Regions from separate parts of the Homo sapiens genome. Here region 2 is linked to region 1. The links are contacts of gene promoters, found by promoter capture Hi-C in human tissues and cell types (Jung and others, 2019). All regions are on one chromosome and are shown on one strand. Each heading gives the region's core, a stretch centred on a gene start or on the middle of the fragment in contact. The rest is flanking DNA. Distances are from core to core; before and after follow the strand shown. Region 1 holds the start of CSRNP3 (cysteine and serine rich nuclear protein 3). Region 2 has its middle 42 kb from the start of CSRNP3.

Region 1 (5,441 bases), core at 1,717-4,216:
ATTTATATATATTTAATTAGTAAAAGTTTGCTATAGTGAAGCAAACTAACATATCCATCATTTCATATAGCTATACTTTTTTGTTGTTTTTGTGGTAAGAGTAGCTAACATCTACTTATTTTACATGAAACCCATAGTACAATTTCATTACCTGTAGTCCTCATGTTGTACATTAGATCTCTAGACTTGTTCATCATATATATATATATATACACACATATACACACACACATACATATATATATATATATATATGCTTCTTTGTATCCTCTGACCTACATCTTCCCATACCCCCAGTCCCTGCCTCTGGTAATCACTGTTTTGTTCTCTATCTCTATATATTTGATTTTTTTTTTTACAAAGATTCTGCATATAAGTGAGACCAGGCAATATTTCTGTGTCTGGATTATAGCACATAGCATAATGTCCTCCAGGCTCATCTACATAGTGGCAAAAAGCAAGATCTATTTTTTAGGACTGAATAATATTCCATTGTGTATTTGTACCACATTTTTATCCCCTTGTCCATCAATGAATGCTTAAGTTGTTTCCATATGTTGGCTATTGTGAATAATGCTGCAATGAACATGGTAATACAGATATCTTTACAAAGTTGTGATTCCACTTCTGAGTATATGCCCAGAAGAGAGATTGCTAGATCATATGGTAGTTCTATTTTTAATTTTTTTACAATCATCCATACTGTTTTTCATAATGCTGTAGCAGTTGACATTCCCACCAACAGTGTACAAGAGTACTCTTTTCTCTACACTCTCTCCAACATTTATCTGCAGACATTTTGATAACAGCCGTCCTAATAAATATGAGGTGGTATTTCTTAGTAATTTTGATTTACATTGCCCTGAGGATTGGTGATGCTGAGCATATTTTCATAAACCTGTTGTCCATTTTTATGTCTTCTTTGGAGAAATGTCTATTTGGGCCTTTTGTCCATTTTGTATTGGGTTTGTTTTTCCACTGTTAAGTTTTATGAGTTCTTTATAAAATTTTTATATTAAACCCTTAGGGTGCTCATTTATTTTCATTACTTTAACCGAACCCTAGATGCTGGGGGTTCCAAATTGAACCTACATCCCAGCCTTATTTATGAGTTTAACTGACTATTTAATATTTTAATCTGGATATCCAAAAAGTTCAAAACGTTCAAATTAATTTTGTTATTTTGTTCCCAAATCTCTAAATCTCTCTTTTTTTTTTTTTTCTGAGACAATGGCATCATCATCTAAACAGAAGAAATCTGGTTAGAATTTGTGCCCTGCAAATACTTGCCTACAAGTCTCTGTCTACAATCACACTTGACATATAAATCACCTGGGAGAGCTTGCTAAAAATGCTGAGTCAGAAACTCCTCAAATGCTTATTCATTAAATCTGGAGGAGGCCCATGAACCTGCATTTTTAATGAATCTTCCCCTAGTGGTTCTGATGAAGATGGCCCCGAACAACTATTTCTAAAAATGCTGTCTGTCCTAGGGATTCCTCCAGTTATTCCTAGCAATAGGACCACAAAGGCTTTGAAAGCATTTTTCACAACAGAGGACTTGGCGGTGGGAATAAGCGATAGTTTAGTCTTCCCCATAATCTTTAGCAGAGCCTCCCAAAGCTACTCTAAATAACAGTGCAAACTAAGCAAAATCAGTGCACTCCTATCTAAAGTTAGTATCAGTTTAAGTCACCAGCCATTCCTTTCCTAACAATATTGACACCCCAAGCCCTTCCTGTACAGATATTCCTGGACTAATGATTTGCCACCATGCCAGTAACTCTTAAAGAATGCTTGCTTGCCCTTCCCTCTAATTTTACTCCCTTTGGCCTTATTCCCATGAGGACACATTACTGATTTAAGAAATTGAAGAGCAAGGCTTATAAATACCTCAAGTAGCCAGTACATACCTCTATAGTGGTGATATCTACTGTATATGTCTTTCTAAGGAAATTTTTCAGACCACCTCCACTAGAGGAAGCTCAATTGAGAGAATTTTTATCATAAAGATCCCTGGTTTGTATTACAGTATTTTAAAAATTAAACTGTTTGAAACTGGATGAATTTGCTTTATTGCCTTAAAAAATCCTAATTTGGTGTTTTCTTTAACTGTCCTTTAATGCATGTTATGCCTCTAGGTTCAGAAGTGAAATGATTTTTGTTTAAGTTTATTAGAATAAAATTGGAGTTCAGCTGGTCACTTTGAGGCATGGCAACCAAGTGACTGATCTCTTTTTAATCTTTAATAAGTTCCATTATTCACAAATTGATGGCATTTAAGGAATCTGAAGTAATGCAAACCACATAACTGTGAAATATTTGAATATTCTAATGCTCAGAATGAAATATTTTTCATACTGATTAGGCCTCGAAACTGCGTTTGAATGAAAACATTGTCAAACAGAGGTTGTAGTGCAAATAATATAAAACATAAGTATAAAGGGTGTTGATTCATTTTAATTCTATCTCTTTGCAAACTGAATATGCAAAATGTCATCTTGATGTTCAGTCTCCCTCCTCTGTCTGCATATCAAAATGTATAATGAGGAGGTACACTTTTTTCACTGAGAAAAATCAGTGGGAACTAAAAAACAGGCAATTTACCTAGGTTTTACTATGAGCATTTTGCTTTGATTTCAGGTAGGTGAGGCATTGATTAACTTTATTTTTCTAAATCCAAAGCAAGACTTTTTACTTCAGCTGAGGTCATCTGCAGACATTTTCCATAGTTGGGAGCTATTTTTTGAAATATCTTGCATCTCTGCTTTTCTCTCCATATTTCTTTTCTCCACTCGCTTCCTCTCTCCCAGCTGCAGGGATTCGTCCTCTAAAAGAGTGGAGGTGGGAGGGAACAAGAAATGGAAGCAAAGCAGGGAGCATGAGCTAGAGAATGCCAGGATCTGGCTTTTGTTATTGGTTGGCTGCCGCCTGATGGATAGACGAGGGAGGAGTGTACTCTCTTCAGTGTGTTCTGACGGAGCCGAAGTACAGAAACCATATTTACAGGTAAGAGCGAAAAATAAAAAAAAAGAAAAGAGAATTCTTTTTTTCTTTAAAAGAGAATGCTTCTTAATTTTTACGGAAACAATTTTATAGTAGGAAAATTATTCTGAGGACATTTTCTGAAAGTGTGTCCCTTTTATTACTTGAGGAAGCTTTGCAATGAGCTTGCTGTTCTTTCTCTCTGCAAAATCCTTAGCTGATTAAAAACAAAACAAAACAATCACCAGAGGCATGTCTTATCCTAAATAACTTTCTATGCAAGTGTCACTGAAGCAAAATTAATAGATAAAATGAATCATCATGTGTCTCTTCAAAAATGTTTAATTCAAGCTTGTTACTAGGAATCGCAGGAAGGATGAGAAAACCTCGGTAAATTCCACAGGTCCTGAGAAAATGGAGCCTTCTGTGAATATACAATATAAAATTTCATGTGATGGCTTTTAATATTGACAATACAGTAAAAGGCTTAGGAAAACTATTTTTGCAGGTTGTAGACTCTTTTAGCATTAATTTAGAATGAATGATTTGTGTGCATTTAAGCCCTGTTATTTAACTTACTCCTCTTGATAAATCTCATGTTGTTCAATATTTGCATTATTTTATTCAGCAAACTTTAAGCTTATGTGATAATTAAACAATGGTTTGTCTCTACTTGTTAACTTACATGGAGCCATTTTTATTTTAAAGCACAGAAACCTAATTTTGAAAGATTAAACATTGCTGTAAAAAATAGCATCTTAACAGTCATGTTTCATGGGTAGTTTAATTTATCAGTCAAACACATCTAGATAAGAATTCCATCAGAGCATTTATATTGTTGATAATATCTCTAGGCAATTTTTTTTTAGCAACTTTACTAGGTGCTTGTATCTCCTAATATGGTCCTTTATATTGCCTTAGGGAAAAAAGGGACAAGTTCTAAGTATGTAGAATAAATAACACACTTGCAGTAAAAACATACAAAAAAACTGAACTCCCAGTCACTTAATTCTTTACTTTAATTCATAAATACAGGTCATTTAACGGTGGTAGAACCTCATTAAAATTGAACTTTCAAGAATTATGACTGACTTCAGTACACTGGCCATCGATTAATACCTGTTGATTATAATAATAAAATAAAAGTCTTTCAATGAGGTAAATAATTTGTTCCTACATATTTTAATACCTTTTTGAATGAATCAAAACTAATAGGAATGACTATATAATTTCTAAATATTTTTTGCTATTGTTTTTCTTTTTGTTTATTGTTTTTCAAATTTTTTTATTTATTGTACTTTTTTTGTTTGAGAGATTTTGTCTTTGAATAAACAGACACAAATATAATAGTTCTTGGAAAATTAAAATGAGTGAGAAAATTGCTGAATATTAGTATGGATTATCTAAATGAATTGAGAATTACCTTAAATTTCCTAAAAGTACTAAATATAGTTAATAACATGTTTATATGGTTAAGTGTCATAATGAACCAAGTAAATATTCTGGTATGGTTGATTTTGAACTGTTTCTGGATTTCAAAAATTATTACATAATACTGAAATTTTGGCATGTTTCTAATTATTGATGGATCTTTCCGATTTTGTTTTTTTAAGCAAAACAATGGTTGAAATTAATCCACCCCTCACCCCAAGATTGAAATTCAAGGTGATATATAAGACCAGATATTCATCTCCTAAAATGTATTAGAGGAAATAAATCAATGCAGCTATATTTTTTAGAAATTATAAATTCTGAGTAAAGCTACCTCCAGGAATGAAGGGGAATTGATGAAAATTAGAGAGCAGAGTTCCACATGGTTTTAAATTATTCTGTTTCCTTGGAAACCAGCTGCTGCAGATGCATTTTGCTTTCTTTGGCTAAAAATATCACCCTTTTAATAATCACTAAGGGAGAGGACTGAATAAAACCAGAGTATATTGTTGCTGCTTTTTATAATTTCCTTAATGGTTCACATATTTTGGATGAAAAGTAGATAAACCCTTTCTCAATCAGCATTTCCTATCAGCCACTGGCAGACGTCTGCAAGTCTTATAAAAATGAGACAACTGGGGTAGCTTTTACTGCAGAGTCCACAGGAAGAGATAGAGAGAGAGAGAGAATGTGTGCTGGAGTGGAGACAAGAGAGAAAAAAAAAGCATGAAAGAAAACAGTTAAGAGGTTACTGTCCAAGTGAAGGATGAAACAAGGCAAATGAAAACCATGTAAGGCTTTCAGTGAGAAATGGGAAGGCATCACCATTTTTTTTTCCTTTGGTACAAACATTTTTAAGATTTAAATGTAGGTTTTTAATGGAGCTCACTATATACAGCTTTGTCCCCTTTTCACAACACTCTTTCCTTTTTCTCTTTATGTTTGCAGTGGTTTGCAATATAATGAATAATACAATAAATTAAGAAGTATTTTTTAATGTATCAATCACTTTAATCATAAAGAGA
Region 2 (5,231 bases), core at 449-2,948, 43 kb before region 1:
TAGAATTCAGGTTAAAGCAGTATGGTAACAAATATATACAGTTATAGGTAAAGATTTGCTGTTATTAAAAGAATAAAATATTTAGGCTATTTTCAAAGATCTCCGATAAAATGTTCCCAAACTGCTTTTCTGGACTTATTATTTATTTTATGTTTCAAAATACTTTGGAGTCAAGCCACTCCTGACTAGAAGTATTTATTCATGCAAAACATGCATATTCAGGTGTCTATATTTCAGTGCCTATGCGTTTGATCTCTGTAGTATAATAAAGAATTTGGCTGGTCTCCATCCCCAGTTTATGAGAAGTAGCCTCAAAATCCTTGGAATTTCCTGAGTGACAGGAGTGTTTATGGTATTCATGGTAGACCTTGTTTATACTAGTGAGGTAACTCATGGTGGACTCTACATGTTTTATACTAATGAGATGACTCGGGACAGGTACTGGCAACACCAGAAAGACCAACCATGTGATGAGAGGATTGGGACTTTGATATTAGCTCAATATCTGGGGAGCATAAAGGGGTCAGAGATTTGGTTTAATCACATGGACAGTGATTCAATCAATCTTGCCTATGTGATGATACTCCAACAAAAACTCTGGACAAACCTCAGGTGAGTCCCCTGGTTAGCAAGTCTCTATGCACTGTCATACATCAATATGCTGGAAGGGTATCCTGACTCCATGGGGAACAAAATGGAAGCTTTGCTTTTCAGACCCTTCGAAACCTCATTCTATGCCTCATTCCCTTTGGCTAATTATATTTTTGTATCCTTTTACTATAATAAAGCTATAATCATAAGTATAGCACTTTCCTGAGTTGTGTGAGCTGTTCTAGTAAATAATTAAGCCTGAGGGGTTCGGGGGAATCCAGTAATTGTAGCCAGCTGGTCAGAGTACGAGTGTCCTGGGGACCTCTGAATTTACAGCTATTATATAAGGTAAGGGCAATCTTGTGCCCTCAATCTATGAAATTTGGCTACTATGGTTAATTGGCACCAGCAGTCACTGAAGTCTCTGTTTTCAAATGGCCCTTCCTTCACTTATTTACACAAAGCAGTGGTTCTCAAAGTGTGGTCCCTGGACCAATAGCATCAGTATTTCCTAGAAACCTGTTAGAAGTAAAACTTATCTGGTTCCACCTCAGACCTACTAAATCAGAAACTCCAGAGGTGGGACAGGAAATCTGTTTTATTAAGCACTCTAAGTGATTCTGATAAATATTGTATTTAAGAACCATTGAAATAAAGAAACTTTACTCAACCTTCTGATGGGAGTTGAGGCCCGCCTGGAGTGGCCACTACCAAGATGCTGGCTGCAGCAGGGGAGGCGTGGCTAAGGCTGCATGTTCCGCAGAGCTGTTGGGGGCTAGGAACTGGGTGCAGCTGCAGCCACCCAGCTGTGGCTTTGGACCCGGGCATCCCTGTGCCTTCGGGGGGCCTGAAAACCCCCACCCCCACTCCTGCAGGCTCAGAAGTGCTTGCTTCTGCTCTCTGGCCTCACCCATCTCCTGGCACATGGTTCAGTGCAGAGCAAAGTTGTGGTCGAACCTGGGCACTGTCATGACCTGGCTGGGTGTGTACATGCTTGGGGCAGCACAGACATGCCAGCCCCCTGCTGCCTTGTCCCCCTCTGGACTTTGGGTGCCACTGATCCTGGGAAGGAGGTGGGGGATGGTGAGGGCAGCTCAGTGCATGCCTGCAGGTACCCCTCAGCATGAACAGCCTAGTGCCATAGATGGCATGTTGATGGCAAAAGGCAGATGGGCTCCTGGGCAGAAAGGGGTGGGTCCCTGGTGAAACCCCACCTTTAAGCCAGAAACAGCTTGAAGCCTGGGGCCTGGGCTGCCATTTCCAGATTAAGTCCTTGGCCTAGGGTGAGAACTTATAGTGCTCTTTCTGGGCCTGTCCATAGCTGCCCATGGACCAGTAAGCACACATTTACTCCCTCTGACCCCATAAAAACCCAGACTCAACCAAACTCAGACAGACATCAGGACTACCAGCTGCAGGAAGAAGCTACCCATTTCAGGTCTCCTGAGAGCTGTTCCGTTGCTCAGTGACACCCCTCTCCACCTTGCTTACCCTCTAGTTGTCCATGTACCTCATTCTTCCTGGATGTGGGACGACAACCCAGGATCTGCCAGATGGTGGGACTGAAAGACCTGTAATGCAAACAGCTGAAACATGCCCCCCACTCACCACATTGCTGATGATGAGGAGAAAAGAGCTGCAGCCCTTAAACGAGCCCAGACCTAGGAGCTCCCTGAGCCAGGGCTGTGATACTGTCTTTGGGGCTCTGTGATTCCTGGTGTCTGCAAGCTTCTGGGAGCCACCATGTTCCCCAGTACCCACAGTGGAAGCTGTTTGTGGTACACCTGGTCCATCCACAGCCTCGCATGGTGCTGGCACCTGTGGCAGCACCTGGAGCTGCCTACCACACTGCAGCCAGCAAATGCCTGCTCGTGTACAGTGGCTGGACCCCACACATGCCCACACACCCCTCGCTGCTCTCTGTGCCTGTCTCACCCTTGGCAGGTGTGGGATCCAGGCCGGTAGCATGAGCTGAGCATAGCCTGTCAGGCCAAGTGGGCTGAAAGAGCCCAGCAGGCCTGAGCAAAACTTGGGCAAAGATGCCACCAGCCACAGAGGTTTCTAGCTGGAAAAATGACACCCCAAGGATCCCATGACACTTCCATGACAATCACATTTCCCTTCCTGCAATGAAAACTTCCCAGACTTACAAACCTGGCATCCCCGCATGAGCTCCCTGATCTAATAGATGTATTCTAATACAGCAGTTCCCAAATTTTGTTTCCAAGACAATCTTAAACTTCTGGAAAATCCCAAAGAGCCTTTGTTTACATGGACTATATTTACTGTATCAGAAATTAAAACTGAGATAATTGTAAAATATTTATTTTAAAATCTATTTAAAATAACAACAATGAACTGAATATGTGTTGGTATAAATAATTTTCTGTGTGTAAAAAAAAAAAAGTCGCTGTTTTTCAAAACAAGTGAGAAAAATGGCATTGGTTTTTATTTTTGCAAATCTCTTTAATGTCAGCCTTAATAGAAGACAGTTGGATTCTCATACCAGTTTCTGGATTTAAAGTGTTGAAATATGTTGTTCTAGTTGAATTATATTAATAAAAATTATCTCACATTGATATGTAGTTGAAAAAGTGAGAAATATGTTAATAACCTTTGTAGATTATTGTGAATATTATTTTATTACTATTACAAAAATTGACAAGGGTAGTTTTTTTTAAAGGTTAGCTGCAATGTGAAATTTGAAATTATATCAATGAAATCTTTGCACTCTGCTACATTAAAATCTTTTCGTCTCTCTTGCACTTTGAACACATATTTTACAATGCATTGTTTTGTAACATCATGCTTCGTCATTTAGAAAATATTCATTCATTGAGTTAAATGAATGTCCTTGATGTTGACACATTTTATTAGACAATATCAAAATCACAGTTGTTAATGTTACCATTGTTCTCAGAAAAAACTTTAAGTGTTGGGAAGCCCTCAAGTAAACGGTGGCAGAAACAAATTTCCAAAATTCTAATTTTTTGCTTGAAAGCTCAGATTTTATCTTTGGCAACAAACCCTGAGTTTTCTTTGAAATGACAGACTCACTTCCTTCATATCCAAGAAACTGCCTGCCAAATACCCAAATCTAAAACACCAGTCTGCCAGTCATTCTTTCAAGTAAAAATGGCTTTTCATGGGAAAAAAAAAAAGACAGCTTGTTTAGCTCCTGACTCAATCACACATGTGCTTTTCCTTGAGACAACTATCATACTTTGGTATGAAGCAGAAGTGGTTTATTCATACTTTCCATTTAATCACAGAGAACATTTAAAAAATATGTACTCAAGGGTTAAGATTTTTTTTAGAAGCAGGGTCTCCTGACTTCTTAATGATTGCCATTCTAACTGGTGTGAGATGGTATCTCATTGTGGTTTTGATTTGCATTTCTCTGATGGCCACTGATGATGAGCATTTTTTCATGTGTTTTTTGGCTGCATAAATGTCTTCTTTTGGGAAGTGTCTGTTCATGTCCTTCGCCCACTTTTTGATGGGGTTGTTTGTTTTTTTCTTGTAAATTTGTTTGAGTTCATTGTGGATTCTGGATATTAGCCCTTTTTCAGATAAGTAGGTTGCGAAAATTTTCTCCCGTTTTGTAGGTTGCCTGTTCACTCTGATGGTAGTTTCTTTTGCTGTGCAGAAGCTCTTTAGTTTAATTAGATCCCATTTGTCAATTTTGGCTTTTGTTGCCATTGCTTTTGGTGTTTTAGACATGAAGTCCTTGCCCATGCCTATGTCCTGAATGGTAATGCCTAGGTTTTCTTCTAGGGTTTTTATGCTTTTAGGTCTAACATTTAAGTCTTTAATCCATCTTGAATTGATTTTTGTATAAGGTGTAAGGAAGGGATCCAGTTTCAGCTTTCTACATATGGCTAGCCAGTTTTCCCAGCACCATTTATTAAATAGGGAATCCTTTCCCCATTGCTTGTTTTTAAGAGGATGTGGAGAAATAGGAACACTTTTACACTGTTGGTGGGACTCTAAACTAGTTCAACCATTGTGGAAGTCAGTGTGGCGATTCCTCAGGGATCTAGAACTAGAAATACCATTTGACCCAGCCATCCCATTACTGGGTATATACCCAAAGGACTATAAATCATGCTGCTATAAAGACACATGCACACGTATGTTTATTGCGGCATTATTCACAATAGCAAAGACTTGGAACCCACCCAAATGTCCAACAATGATAGACTGGATTAAGAAAATGTGGCACATATACACCATGGAATACTATGCAGCCATAAAAAATGATGAGTTCATGTCCTTTGTAGGGACATGGATGAAATTAGAAATCATCATTCTCAGTAAACTATTGCAAGAACAAAAAACCAAACACTGCATATTCTTACTCATAGGTGGGAATTGAACAATGAGAACACATGGACACAGGAAGGGGAACATCACACTCTGGGGACTGCTGTGGGGTGGGGGGAGGGGGGAGGGATAGCATTGGGAGATATACCTAATGCTAGATGACGAGTTAGTGGGTGCAGTGCACCAGCATGGCACATGTATACATATGTAACTAACTTGCACATTGTGCACATGTACCCTAAAACTTAAAGTATAATAATAATAAATAAATAAATTAAAAAAAAAAAAAAGAAGCAGGATCTCACTTTATTGCC

Evidence for each region. Contacts are between HindIII fragments. The study calls those that stand out against the background at their distance.
Region 2: a contact is called between a fragment that was not itself captured here and the fragment with the promoter of CSRNP3 in region 1, in 1 of the 25 tissues and cell types used here (pancreas).

What each region holds. Positions count from the first base shown.
Region 1 is chr2:165,466,732-165,472,172 of GRCh38, forward strand. CSRNP3 (cysteine and serine rich nuclear protein 3) reads left to right here and starts at 2,967. Exons shown (of 7, transcript NM_001172173.2): 1 at 2,967-3,009. The HindIII fragment of the contact is 6,911 bases long and covers 1-4,534 here.
Region 2 is chr2:165,425,427-165,430,657 of GRCh38, forward strand. No RefSeq gene overlaps it. Among named protein-coding and RNA genes, the nearest start is that of CSRNP3, 42 kb to the right of the region's middle. RefSeq lists an enhancer at 1,068-2,003. The HindIII fragment of the contact is 5,022 bases long and covers 1-4,209 here.